Regions from separate parts of the Homo sapiens genome. Here regions 1 and 3 are each linked to region 2. The links are contacts of gene promoters, found by promoter capture Hi-C in human tissues and cell types (Jung and others, 2019). All regions are on one chromosome and are shown on one strand. The core of a region is centred on a gene start or on the middle of the fragment in contact, and the rest is flanking DNA. Distances in the headings are between cores, read along the strand shown. Region 1 holds the start of ZSCAN1 (zinc finger and SCAN domain containing 1). Region 2 has its middle 11 kb from the start of ZNF749. Region 3 holds the start of ZNF71 (zinc finger protein 71).

The links. The method cuts DNA at HindIII sites, captures the fragments that hold promoters and counts their contacts. A contact is called where the count stands out against the background at its distance.
Region 1: a contact is called between the fragment with the promoter of ZSCAN1 here and a fragment that was not itself captured in region 2, in 3 of the 25 tissues and cell types used here (dorsolateral prefrontal cortex, pancreas and stomach).
Region 3: the fragment with the promoter of ZNF71 here is called in contact with a fragment that was not itself captured in region 2 in 1 of the 25 tissues and cell types used here (dorsolateral prefrontal cortex).

What each region holds. Positions count from the first base shown.
Region 1 is chr19:58,032,532-58,036,079 of GRCh38, reverse strand. ZSCAN1 (zinc finger and SCAN domain containing 1) reads right to left here and starts at 2,055. Exons shown (of 6, transcript NM_182572.4): 1 at 1,919-2,055; 2 at 69-110. The HindIII fragment of the contact is 19,074 bases long and covers 1-3,548 here.
Region 2 is chr19:57,422,429-57,425,974 of GRCh38, reverse strand. No RefSeq gene overlaps it. Among named protein-coding and RNA genes, the nearest start is that of ZNF749, 11 kb to the left of the region's middle. The HindIII fragment of the contact is 4,324 bases long and covers 1-3,525 here.
Region 3 is chr19:56,592,828-56,596,575 of GRCh38, reverse strand. It overlaps ZNF71 (zinc finger protein 71), which reads right to left and starts at 1,274. Exons shown (of 4, transcript NM_001370215.1): 1 at 1,148-1,274. ZNF71-SMIM17 (ZNF71-SMIM17 readthrough (NMD candidate)) reads right to left here and starts at 1,274. Exons shown (of 5, transcript NR_163263.1): 1 at 1,148-1,274. RefSeq lists a silencer at 923-1,312. The HindIII fragment of the contact is 26,997 bases long and covers 1-3,748 here.

The DNA.
Region 1 (3,548 bases), core at 806-3,305, 610 kb before region 2:
GTGTCATAGAAAGGGAGTCCTGGGAAGACGCCCATGGGGGGCGGCCAAGTGCTTTGTGCTGTTCATACTTCTCTGAATCTCCTCCAAATGGTGTCGGGCTCCCATGTGACCTTCATCAACATGGAAAAACAAAACAAAACAAGACATCTTTAGGAAGGATTTTTGACCATATGGGAAATGCTTATGACAAGTGAAAAGGAGGGATTCCATGGGATTTTTCCCTCTTCATCCTCTGCTGCATTTTTCATACACTCTGCAGTTCTCGTGCATCTGGTTTTACAATCCAGGAGAAAGGAGAGGTGCAGGGTGGCAGAAAGGCAACTCACGGGGACTGTGCCCAGCCAGCCATCTTCGAGTCAGCGTACCCGGCCACCTGCACCCTGATTGGGAAACTACCAGCTTGGTCTTCCCTGCCAAGGCCACAGGCAAAAATGCTCTCTTATGTTGTATTCACACTTTTATATATGTAGTTTTGAATAAGAAAAAAGGGCCTATTTTGAAGCTCCACAGGTTCAAGAAATCCCTTTGCCCTGGGGCCTCAGACCTTATACTCTCTCAGGTGCTCATGGCAGCTCACCCTGGAGACTCTAGGGAGGGGGGCTGTAGCCCCTCAGCATCCTCCAGGGTCCTGGGCTGAGGTCTGTGGGAGGAGATGCTAAGTTTATCAGGGATGAGGGTAAAGAGGAGGTCTTAGCAGAAGGCACCAGAGGTCCATGGGTGTGTCTGGGGTCTATATGGGGGCTGATGTGGAACACCTAGGCCAATGTGGGGGTACCTGAGCTGATGAGAGTCCTGGACTGATGGGTGGCTGTTTCTGGAAGATGAAGAGGGCCTGGGATGATGTGAAGGGGACTGAGGTCTACATGGCTGGTGAGGAGGATCTGGGCCCCCCCATGGGCAATGCTGTGGTGGCCCTGGGGTCCTAGAAGTCTACTTTGGTAGGGGTCTCTGATTAATGTTGGGGATGTGTGTGTGTGAGAGAGTGTCACTTGGAGGGCTCAGTGCCTGTGGAAGGGCCAGGTTCACCTGGCATGGGCACTGAGATCTGCAGCCCGAGCCCCAAATTCTATTGCGGGGATGGGCAGAAGGGCTTTGCCGCTGATGCCGGATGCTTAGTGACATAGAAGACGTGTTCACTGCGCCAGTCAGTGAATGGTTCTGGCTTTGAGAAGGGGGCTTACAGTGGGGAGGGCGTTGGGAGCTTAGGATGCCACACGGAGGAGTTCCATAATAAACGAGCTGGGGAAGTGTGCAAGGGCAGCGCACTGGGAATACAGGGGAGGGGCAGCGACGACGGCTGTGGACGGCTGGTTGGGGGGAGGATGGTGGGGTGATTGGGTGGGGGATGGGTCGGGGGCGGCTGTTCAGGAGGGAGATGGGCCTGGGGCGGGGAGGGGGAGCTTGTAGGGAGAGAGACGGGTCGGGGGCTGCTGTTCCAGTGGGGGATGGGCCCAAGGGGCCGGGTAGGGAGGGAGATGGGTCCGGGGGCGGCTGTTCAGGAGGGAGATAGGTCCCGGGATGCTGATCAGGTGTGGAAGGGAGAACTTGGACGCGGCCGAGCGGTGTTTGGGCGGGCAATGGGGGTACGTAGAGGGGCTTCGGCCTCAAACGGACAGGCGGATGCCAACAGGGGTCGGGGTCCCTGCGGAAGGGGCGGCCCCAGCCCCCCCAGTCCCCGCCCCGCGTGGCCTCTAGCCTTCCCCTTCCCTCCCCTACGGCGACCTCAGGACTCCCGATGGGCTCTGGAACCCCGGCCCGGCCCGCCCCCTCCCGGGCCCGGGCCCGCCTCCCCCGACGCGCGCCCCTGGACCGCGATCCCGGGCCAGCTCCCGCCGACGCGGCGCCGAGACCCTCCCGGGTGGGCGTCCCGATGGACGCTCTGGCGGGCGGAGGGACGGATGGGCCGCGGCGGACTCACCGCGCGCGGGCTTCGCTCGGGCCTGGGCCACTCGGTCATGGCGACCCCTGGGCTGGCGAGCGCGCCCAACGCCGCGGGCGGACCCCATCCCCGCACCCTGCGCGCCGCGGGCGGCCGCCATTGGTCCGCTGGATCACGCCGGGCGTCGGTGACAAGTCACCGCTGCGGGACTCCCGGGCAGGGGCGGGGCTGTGACGCACGAGGCGGCCGAGGCCAATCAGAAGCCGCCTGGGATGAGCGCCCCGCCCCCGCCGTGCCCTCCAGTTACCTCGGGCCGCGGTTCCAGTCGCCTTGGCAACGGGTCGCGCAGCGTCAGGGACGCTGCTGCGGAAAGTGGAGACGGTGGCGGCTGCGGGGATGCGCATGTACGATGGGGCCGCGGGGCAAAACGACGGCATTCCAGACACGCAACCGTTTTATACAGTGTCCAAGAGTAGTATGTTAAAACATTGTTTTTAATATAAATATGTTTAGTACAAGTATGTCCCAGACTAGGATCGCCACTCTTAGCAAATAAAAATACAGGACGTCGGCCGGGCGCGGTGACACGCCTGTAATCCCAGCACTTTGGGAGGCCAAGGCAGGCGGATCACGAGGTCATGAGTTCGAGACCAGCCTGACCAATATGGTGAAACCCCCGTCTCTACTAAAAATACAAAAATTACCTGGGCGTGGTGGCGCATGCCTGTAATCCCAGTTTCTCAGGAGGCTGAGACAGGAGAATCACTGGAACCGGGGAGGCGGAGGTTGCAGTGAGCCGAGATTGCTCCATTGCACTCCAGTTTTCCAGCGTGGGTGACAGAGCGAGACTCCGTCCCCCCACCCCCAAAAAAAAGAAAGAAAAAAGAAACCTCAGTTATATGTAAACTCAAGAAAAACAAGGAGGCCGGGCGCGATAGCTCACGCCTGTAATCCCAGAACTCGGGAGGCCGAGGCAGGCGGATCACCTGAGGTCGGGTGTTTCAGACCAGCCTGGCCAACATGGTGAAACCCCGTCTCTACTAAAAATACAAAAATTAGCCAGGCATGGTGGTGCGTGCCTGTAATCCCAGCTACTCGGGAGGCTGAGGTAGGAGAATCGCTGGAACTGGGGAAGCCGAGGTTGCAGTGAGCCGAGACCTGCCAACGCACTCCAGCCTTGCCTGGGCAACAGAGTGAGACTCTGTCTCAAAAAAAAAAAAAAAAAAAAAAAAAGAAAGAAAGAAAAAGAAAAACAAGGAATTAGTATCAATGTGTCCTATATTTCATATACTTTAACGAAACCTTACATAAGAACATTTCATATAAATAAGTTTTAATATTAATGTCTACAATGTAACCATGTGCCAGAATAGTAGGGTTCCACAGATACTCGTTTTGTATCTGAAATCAGGTGGGGGTGAGATCATGATGCAAGGAGGGTCCTCAGCTCTGGGACTGAGCTCAGGATAGCTGAAGCTGCTCATTGCTGAAGAAGAAGCAGGAGAGTGTGAGCTAAGAAAAGAGAGGAGGACCCACCTCCAGGGGGTCCAGCATCTGCTGGACAGCTGTTTATTGAGGGCCTATGTGTACCAGGCACTGTTCTGGACACTGGGGTGGGAGCACATCAGTGAGAGGGACTGATAGGGCTTTAGTCCCTTGGAAGCCCATG
Region 2 (3,546 bases), core at 114-2,613:
TGCCACTGCACTCCAACCTAGCGTTAGTGAGACTCTGTCAAAAAAAAAAAAAAAAATTATGTATGGATTTCAATTTTTTACACCAAAGTGAATTTGTAATAACTTGTTCTAACAAGTATGAACAGGATCTAGTTTGAGGCACTAAGAACGGCATCAGTTTGAAAACACCTTCTATCAGAGGAATGTGAATTCAGCTAAGGTTGAAGAAAGAACAAATATCAAATATATAGTAAAGCTTGGCTCTAAAAATGGTAAAACCGGCCGGGTGCGGTGGCTCGCGCCTGTAATCCCAGCACTTTGGGAGGCCGAGTTTGGGCGGATCACAAGGTCAGGAGTTCAAGACCATTCTGACCAATATGGTGAAACCCCATCACTACTAAAAATACAAAAATTAGCCGGGCGTGGTGGCGCATGCCTGTAATCCCAGCTACACAGGAGGCTGAAGCAGAAGAATCGCTTGAACCCAGGAAACGGAGGTTGCAGTGAGCTGAGATCGCGCCACTGCACTCCAGCCCAGACGACAGAGTGAGACTCCGTCTCAAAAAAAAGAAAAAGAAAAGTTTATGGGCACAATGACCCAGAGAAATCAGAGTTTACAAACTGATAACCTGTTTTCTTTTTTTTTAGACGGAGTCTCACTCTGTCGCCCATGCTGGAGTGCAGTGGCACGATCTCCACTCACTGCAACCTCCGCCTCCCGGGTTCACGCCATTCTCCTGCCTCAGCCTCCGGAGTAGCTGGGAGTACAGGCGCCCGCCACCACGCCCGGCTAATTTTTTGTATTTTTAGTAGAGACGGGGTTTCACTGTGTTAGCCAGGATAGTCTCGATCTCCTGACCTCATGATCCACCAGCCTCGGCCTCCCAAAGTGCTGGGATTACAGGCGTGAGCCACCGCGCCCGGCCTGATAACGTTTTAAGAAGAGATGAGATGATGTTGACCACGCAGCCCACAATGGCAAACCATTAATAACAATTTGCGAGGAAGAAATTCATCTTGCTCATGACCTTATTGAAGAAGACTGATGATTAACAGCAGAAACAGTAACTGACACCACAGACATCTGAATTGGTTCAGCTTACACAATTCTGACTGAAAAATTAAAGTTGTGCGAACTTTCCACTCAATGGGTGCCAAAGCCACTGAATCCAGATCAGCTGCAGACAAGAGCAGAACCTTCAATGTAAATGTTAAACAAGTAGGATCAAGATGCTGAAGCATTTCTTTGAAGAATTGTACAGATGAAACATGGCTTTATTATTAATTACTATTTGAGATGGAGTTTCACTCTTGTTGCCCAGGCTGGAGTGCAATGGTGTGATCTCGGCTCACTGCCACCTCCGCCTCCCGGGTTCAAGCGATTCTCCTGCCTCAGCCTCCTGAGTAGCTGGGATTACAGGCATGCACCACCTCGCCAGGCTAATTTTTGTATTTTTTAGTAGAGAGGGGGGTTTCTCCATGTTGGTCAGGCTGGTCTCAAACTCCTGAGCTCAGATGATCCGCCCAACTCGGCCTCCCAAATTGCTGGGATTACAGACGTGAGCCACGGCGCCCGCAATGAGAGTGTTTTGAGAAAGTTAGCTAAAGCTTTAGCAGAAAACCCATGGGAAAGCTTCACCAGGAGTCCTTCACTTCAATGCTCCTGCTCATTCCTCTCATCAAATAACTGCAACTTTACAAGAATTCTGATAACCCTAAGGCATCCACCTTACAGTCCGGATTTGGCTCCTTCTGACTTCTTGTTTCCTACTTTTAAAAAATCTTTAAAGGGCACCCATTTTTCTTTAGTTAATATTAAAAAAGATTGCATAGACAAGGTTAAATTCCCAGGAACCTCACTTCTTTAGGGATGGACTAAATGCCTGGTATCATCACTTATAAAATTGTCTTGAACTTGATGGAGCTTATGTTGAGAAATAAAACTTGTTTTCTTTTTGTATCCTTTACTTTCATGTTTCCACAAACTTTCTGAAGTCCCCACATATACTAAAAAACTCCTACATCTCAAAACCAAATAACCCTAAAGAAAAAAAAAAAACTCAACCCAGTAAAACTACTAAAAAAAAAAATTAATAATAAAGTTAAATTAAAAAATGATGCAGCTGCTATAGAAGAGTCCTCAAAAATTTTAAAACAGAATTAACATAGAATGGGAACATTGTGAGTCAGAAATTTAAAAAATTAAAAATATTTTTTAAATGAACATAGGGGGACAGGTGAGTGGATCATGAGGTCGAGATTGAGACCATCCTTGCCAACACGGTGAAACCCCGTCTCAACTAAACATACAAAAATTATCTGGGCATGGTGGTGCATGCCTGTAGTCCCAGCTACTTGGGAGGCTGAGGCAGGAGAACTGCTTGAACCCCGGAGGCAGAGGCTGCAGTGAGCTGAGATCAGGCCACTGTACTCCAGCCTGGCGACAGAGCGAGACTCCCGTCTCAAAAAACAAACAAACAAACAAACAAACAAAAAAAAAACATAGAAAGCACCAATTCTACTTCTGAGTAAATCCTCAAAAGGAATTTAAAGCACAGCCTCAAAGAAACATTTGTACATTCATGCTCATCTGCTATTAACAACAGCTGAGTGGAAACAACCCAAATGTCCACTAATGAAAGGAAAAGTGGCACATACATATATAATCATGCACCTCACTTTTCAGTCAACAATGGGCCACATTCATGACAGTGGTTCCATAAAATTACAATGAAGCTGAAAAATGCTTATTGCCTAATGACATGATAGCAGTAGTAAGGCAATATATTAATCACATATTCATGGTGATGCTGGTATAAACAAACCTACTGTGAGGCCAGTCATATAGAAGTATAACATATACAATAATGTACAGTAGATAAAACTTACGAGTTACTAGCTTATGTTCTTAGCATACTACACTTTTTATCATTAGGTGTTCTCCAACAGTAGAGTATATATGGAGTTGTGTGTATGTCTATAAATATACAGGTGTACATACACACAAACTGTAACACAGCCTCGGGCAGGTCCTTCAGGAGGTATTCCAGAAAAAGGCATTGTTATTTTAGATGACAGCTCCATGTGTGTTACTGTCCCAGAAGATCTTCTGGAACAGGTTGTGAAGGTGGAATAAAATGACATTATCCTGATCCTGTGCCGGCCTAGACAAATGTGTGTATCTTAGTTTTTAACAAAAAAAATTTAAGAAGTTAGGATATAAAAAATATTTTTGTACAGTTGTACAATGTTTTAAGCAAAACATTATTACAAAAGTCAAAAAGTTTTTAAAAATACAAGCTTATAAAGTAAAAAATGGTCAGCTAAGGTTAATATATTAAAGAAAAATTTCTATAAATTTAATTTTGTCCAGCCGGGCACGGTGGCTCATGCCTGTAATCCCAGCACTTTGGGAGGCCAAAGCGAGTGGCTCACTTGAGGTCGGGAGTTTGAGACCAGCCTGGCCAACATGGTAAGACCCCGTTCTCTACTAAAAATACAAAAATTAGCGGGGCATGGTGGTGCATGCCTGTAATCCCAGACACTTGGGAAGCTGAGGCAGAACTG
Region 3 (3,748 bases), core at 25-2,524, 830 kb after region 2:
TTGGGAGTCTGATCCCACTTTAAGAAGATCCTGTGGGAGGCAGAAGAAACAGCCTTCCTTTTCCCCTCCTCCACCCGGCCCCTGTCACTCCCAGGCCCCTACGCCTCCAGAGCCTTCTATGGGCAGGAAAAAGCCAGGGAACTGTGGGCAGGCAGACTAGGAGAAGCGTAGGGTGAGAAGGTAGTGGCTCTGCTAGGCTCCCTTGTCCAGGCATATAGTCTTTGGAAGAGGCACACCCAGACGCACCCACCCCTGCAGAGTCACACGCAAACATCAAGAAATACTCTAGACACAGGTGGACACACAGAGATAGGAAAGATCCAGACAGGACTGGCCCCTGGAAAGACACAGCCCTACACTCATGCCAAGAGACATGCATGGAAAGAGCAGACATAGTGGACACCCAGAGGGCACCCTCCCACAGAGACACTCATGGACAGAGATCAAGGCTGACACACCCACAACACCAAAGACAAGGACACAGGCAGTCACTCAGAGATATCACCACACATGCATAGGCAGAGACCTGGAGAGACACAGCTCCACAGAGAGACCAAGACTCTGAAGAAGTGGGACACACACACACACACGCTACCACACATGACCCACACGGACATACATGGACACATTCACATTCATTCACAGACCCAGCCTCTGGACGACACGCAGTTTCTCTCTCTGTCTCATACACACACACACACACACACACACACACACACACAAACACACACACACAATCACAATATCCAGAGACACAGCCATACCCTCAGGACGACACAATCTGTCTCACACACACATACAGACCCACACAGACACACACACAGACACATTCACAATATCCACAAAGACACAGCCTCATCCTCAGGATGATATGCACTGCCTGTCTCTCACACAGGCCACCTTCCCCCCAGGATGGCCCTCGTGTTCATGCAACTTTCCTACCTCCAACCCACTCACGCCTCTCCCTCCCTGGCCCCGGCCTCTCCTCAGCCCCTCAGCCTCCAGTCAGCCTCTCCTTAGCCCCTCAGCTTCCCCTCAGCCTCTCCTCGGCCGCTCAGCCTCTCCAGGCGCACCTCGGTCCCGGCCTGCACGCCCTCTCCTGCGCCCGCACGCCCTGGACCAGCACCCAGCCCTGCACTCCCCGTACCTGGGCCTGCACGCCGTCTCCCCGAGGCCGCGCCCTCCCCGGGGCCAGGTTCCGGCCCCCGGCACAGGTAGAGGGTGGGCGCGACCCCGCAGCCACACTCACCGGCTCGCCGCTCTGCCAGGACAATGACCGCGCCCGCTAGGCCCGCCCGACGGCAGTGCGCCTGCGCGGACTGCGCCGGACTACGCTTCCCAGAAACCCGCGCGCGCCACCTCCCCCCGGCTTTTTTCAGCCGAGCCCAGCCGAGTGGAGCCGAGCGGAGCCAACTGAGCTCCTCCATCTCACAGAGGACTCCGCGGCCAAGGAGGCTGGGGCGAGAGGGAGGATTGAGGGGGAGGAGGCAGGGAAAGGGAAGGAGAGAGAAGAGACGGAGGGAGGAAGGGTGGAAAGAAAGACGGAGGGAAAGGAGGGGCGAGGAGGAGGGACAGGAGGGAAGGGGGGAGGAGGGAGAAAAGAAGTAGGAGAGGTGGGAAGAAGGATGGAAGGGGAGGAGGGATGGGGAGGAGCGGGGAGAAGAGAGAGGATGGAGAGGGACTTGGGGAGGAGAGCTGGGGAGGAAGAAGAAGAGATGGAGAAGGAGGAGGGGTTGGAAGAAGGATGGAGGGGAAGGAGGAAGGGCTGGGGAGAGACTAAGGGAAAAGAACAGGTCAGAGAGGAGAGGAACCAACAGAAAGAAGAGGGAGCGGGTGGGAGGAGGGAGGGGCAGGGAGGCAGGAAAGGAAGAGAATGGAGACGGCAAGGAGGAGAAGGAAGAAAGGGTGGAAAGGGGGATGAGAAGGTGGAAAGGACTATAAGGAAGAAGAAAAGGGTGGGAAAAGGAGGAAAGAAAGAGGAAGTCGAGTTGGGGAGGGCAGGACAGGCTGAAGAGAGGAAAGAATGGGTAAGGAGAGGGAGGAGGGAGGAAGGAAAACAGAAAAGGACAAGGGATGGGTGGAGGCAGAGAAATGAGGGGGATAAAAGAGGCGTGTCACATCTGCTGCAGACATTTCTGCAGTCCAGCCAATGGACTGGCCTGAGGGACCATCCCAGGCAACTTTAAACCTGATAATCATGCTTATCTTTAAAGAACACTTTTTAAGCATACAGATGTGCAAAGAAGAAAATGAGCATAGGTGTAGAATAAAATGTATAGGAGACTATCGGTTTGGACTGAGTTCCTGCACTAGGCCCAACAGATCAAATCGAAATGGAGCTACTCATGCTGAAGTTCCAGGCCACCAACTCCAACTAAGTTGTTACCTGACCTCCTCTCAGGAGAGAAAGAGAGAGATAATAGCCAAGTCCCAAACAGGCCAGTTTAGCAGGCATGATAAAAGAAATCCCCTTTGCTTTAACCATGATAGGGAAAGTAACTTTGAAATGACCCATCCACTCTTGTTCTCTGTTTCTGCTTTCCTCAGCCCGTTTCTGTGTATGAAGCCATATTCCTCTGCTTGGATCACCAGAACACTAGTTCTATTTTATAGAAGGAGGTGTGGCTGGATTCTAGAATTGCAAATAAAAAACAACTAGATCTTTAAATGTCAATTCCCTATATCTTTAGATATAAGAAAAAAAGCATTAATCCTTGTTGTGAGTTTCCTTTGTTCTGACCCCTGGTCTCCACATTTTATGATTTATAAACAATCTTCACAGCCAAGCTACTTTCCAGATTAGTTGGGTAATACAGACAGGGGAGCTTACACAAGAGGAAAGGTAGGAACCAGATGCCTGGCTGAGACCCTTTTCTATAGTAAACCACAAAGCCAAGTTTAAAAACATTTGCTGAATGTCCAAGTGGCCACAAAACCATCAACAGCAGCTAGCCTTAGGTGGTGATTAATGATGTATTTAAATGAAATATTTTATTCTGAGATAAATGTGGATTTATTCACGTCAGGTTGTAAAACATAATATAGAAATCATACAGAGAGACCTATGTCTCTTAGGTAATTTCACCCAAGGGCAACATCTTGCAATATCACAAGTAGGATACTGACGTCGGTCCATTCAAGAGACAGAACATTTCCATCACAAGGATCTCTTCCGATATTTCCACAAGGATCCTTCATCTTGCCCTTTTATAGCCACACTCACTTTCCTCCAGACTCGATCATTAGTCTATCCTCCATATATACAATTGTGTCATTTCAAGAATGTTATACAAATGGAATCATACAGTATGTGAATGGTGGAATTGGCTTTTTTCATTCAGCACAATTCTCTGGAGATATATTCAAGTTGCTGTATAGAGAGAACTTAATTATCTTGCATAACAGAAACTTTATACTCGTTGAGTAACGTCTTCTCACCTCCCCCAGCCCCTGGAAACCACCATTCTAATTTCTGTTTCTATGAGGTTGACTATTTTAGATTCCACATGTAAGTGGAATCATAAAGTATTTGTCCTGTGACTGGCTTCTTTTACTTAGCATAATGTACTCAAAGTTTATCCATGTTGTCGCATATGACAGGATTTCTTTTTCTAGGGCTTAAAAATATGCCATTGTGTGTGTATGTGTCTGTGTGTGTCACTTTTTTTATCTGTCCATCTGTCAATGGACATGTACATTGTCTTCATCTCTTGGCTATTGTAAATAATGCTGTAATGAACATGGAAGT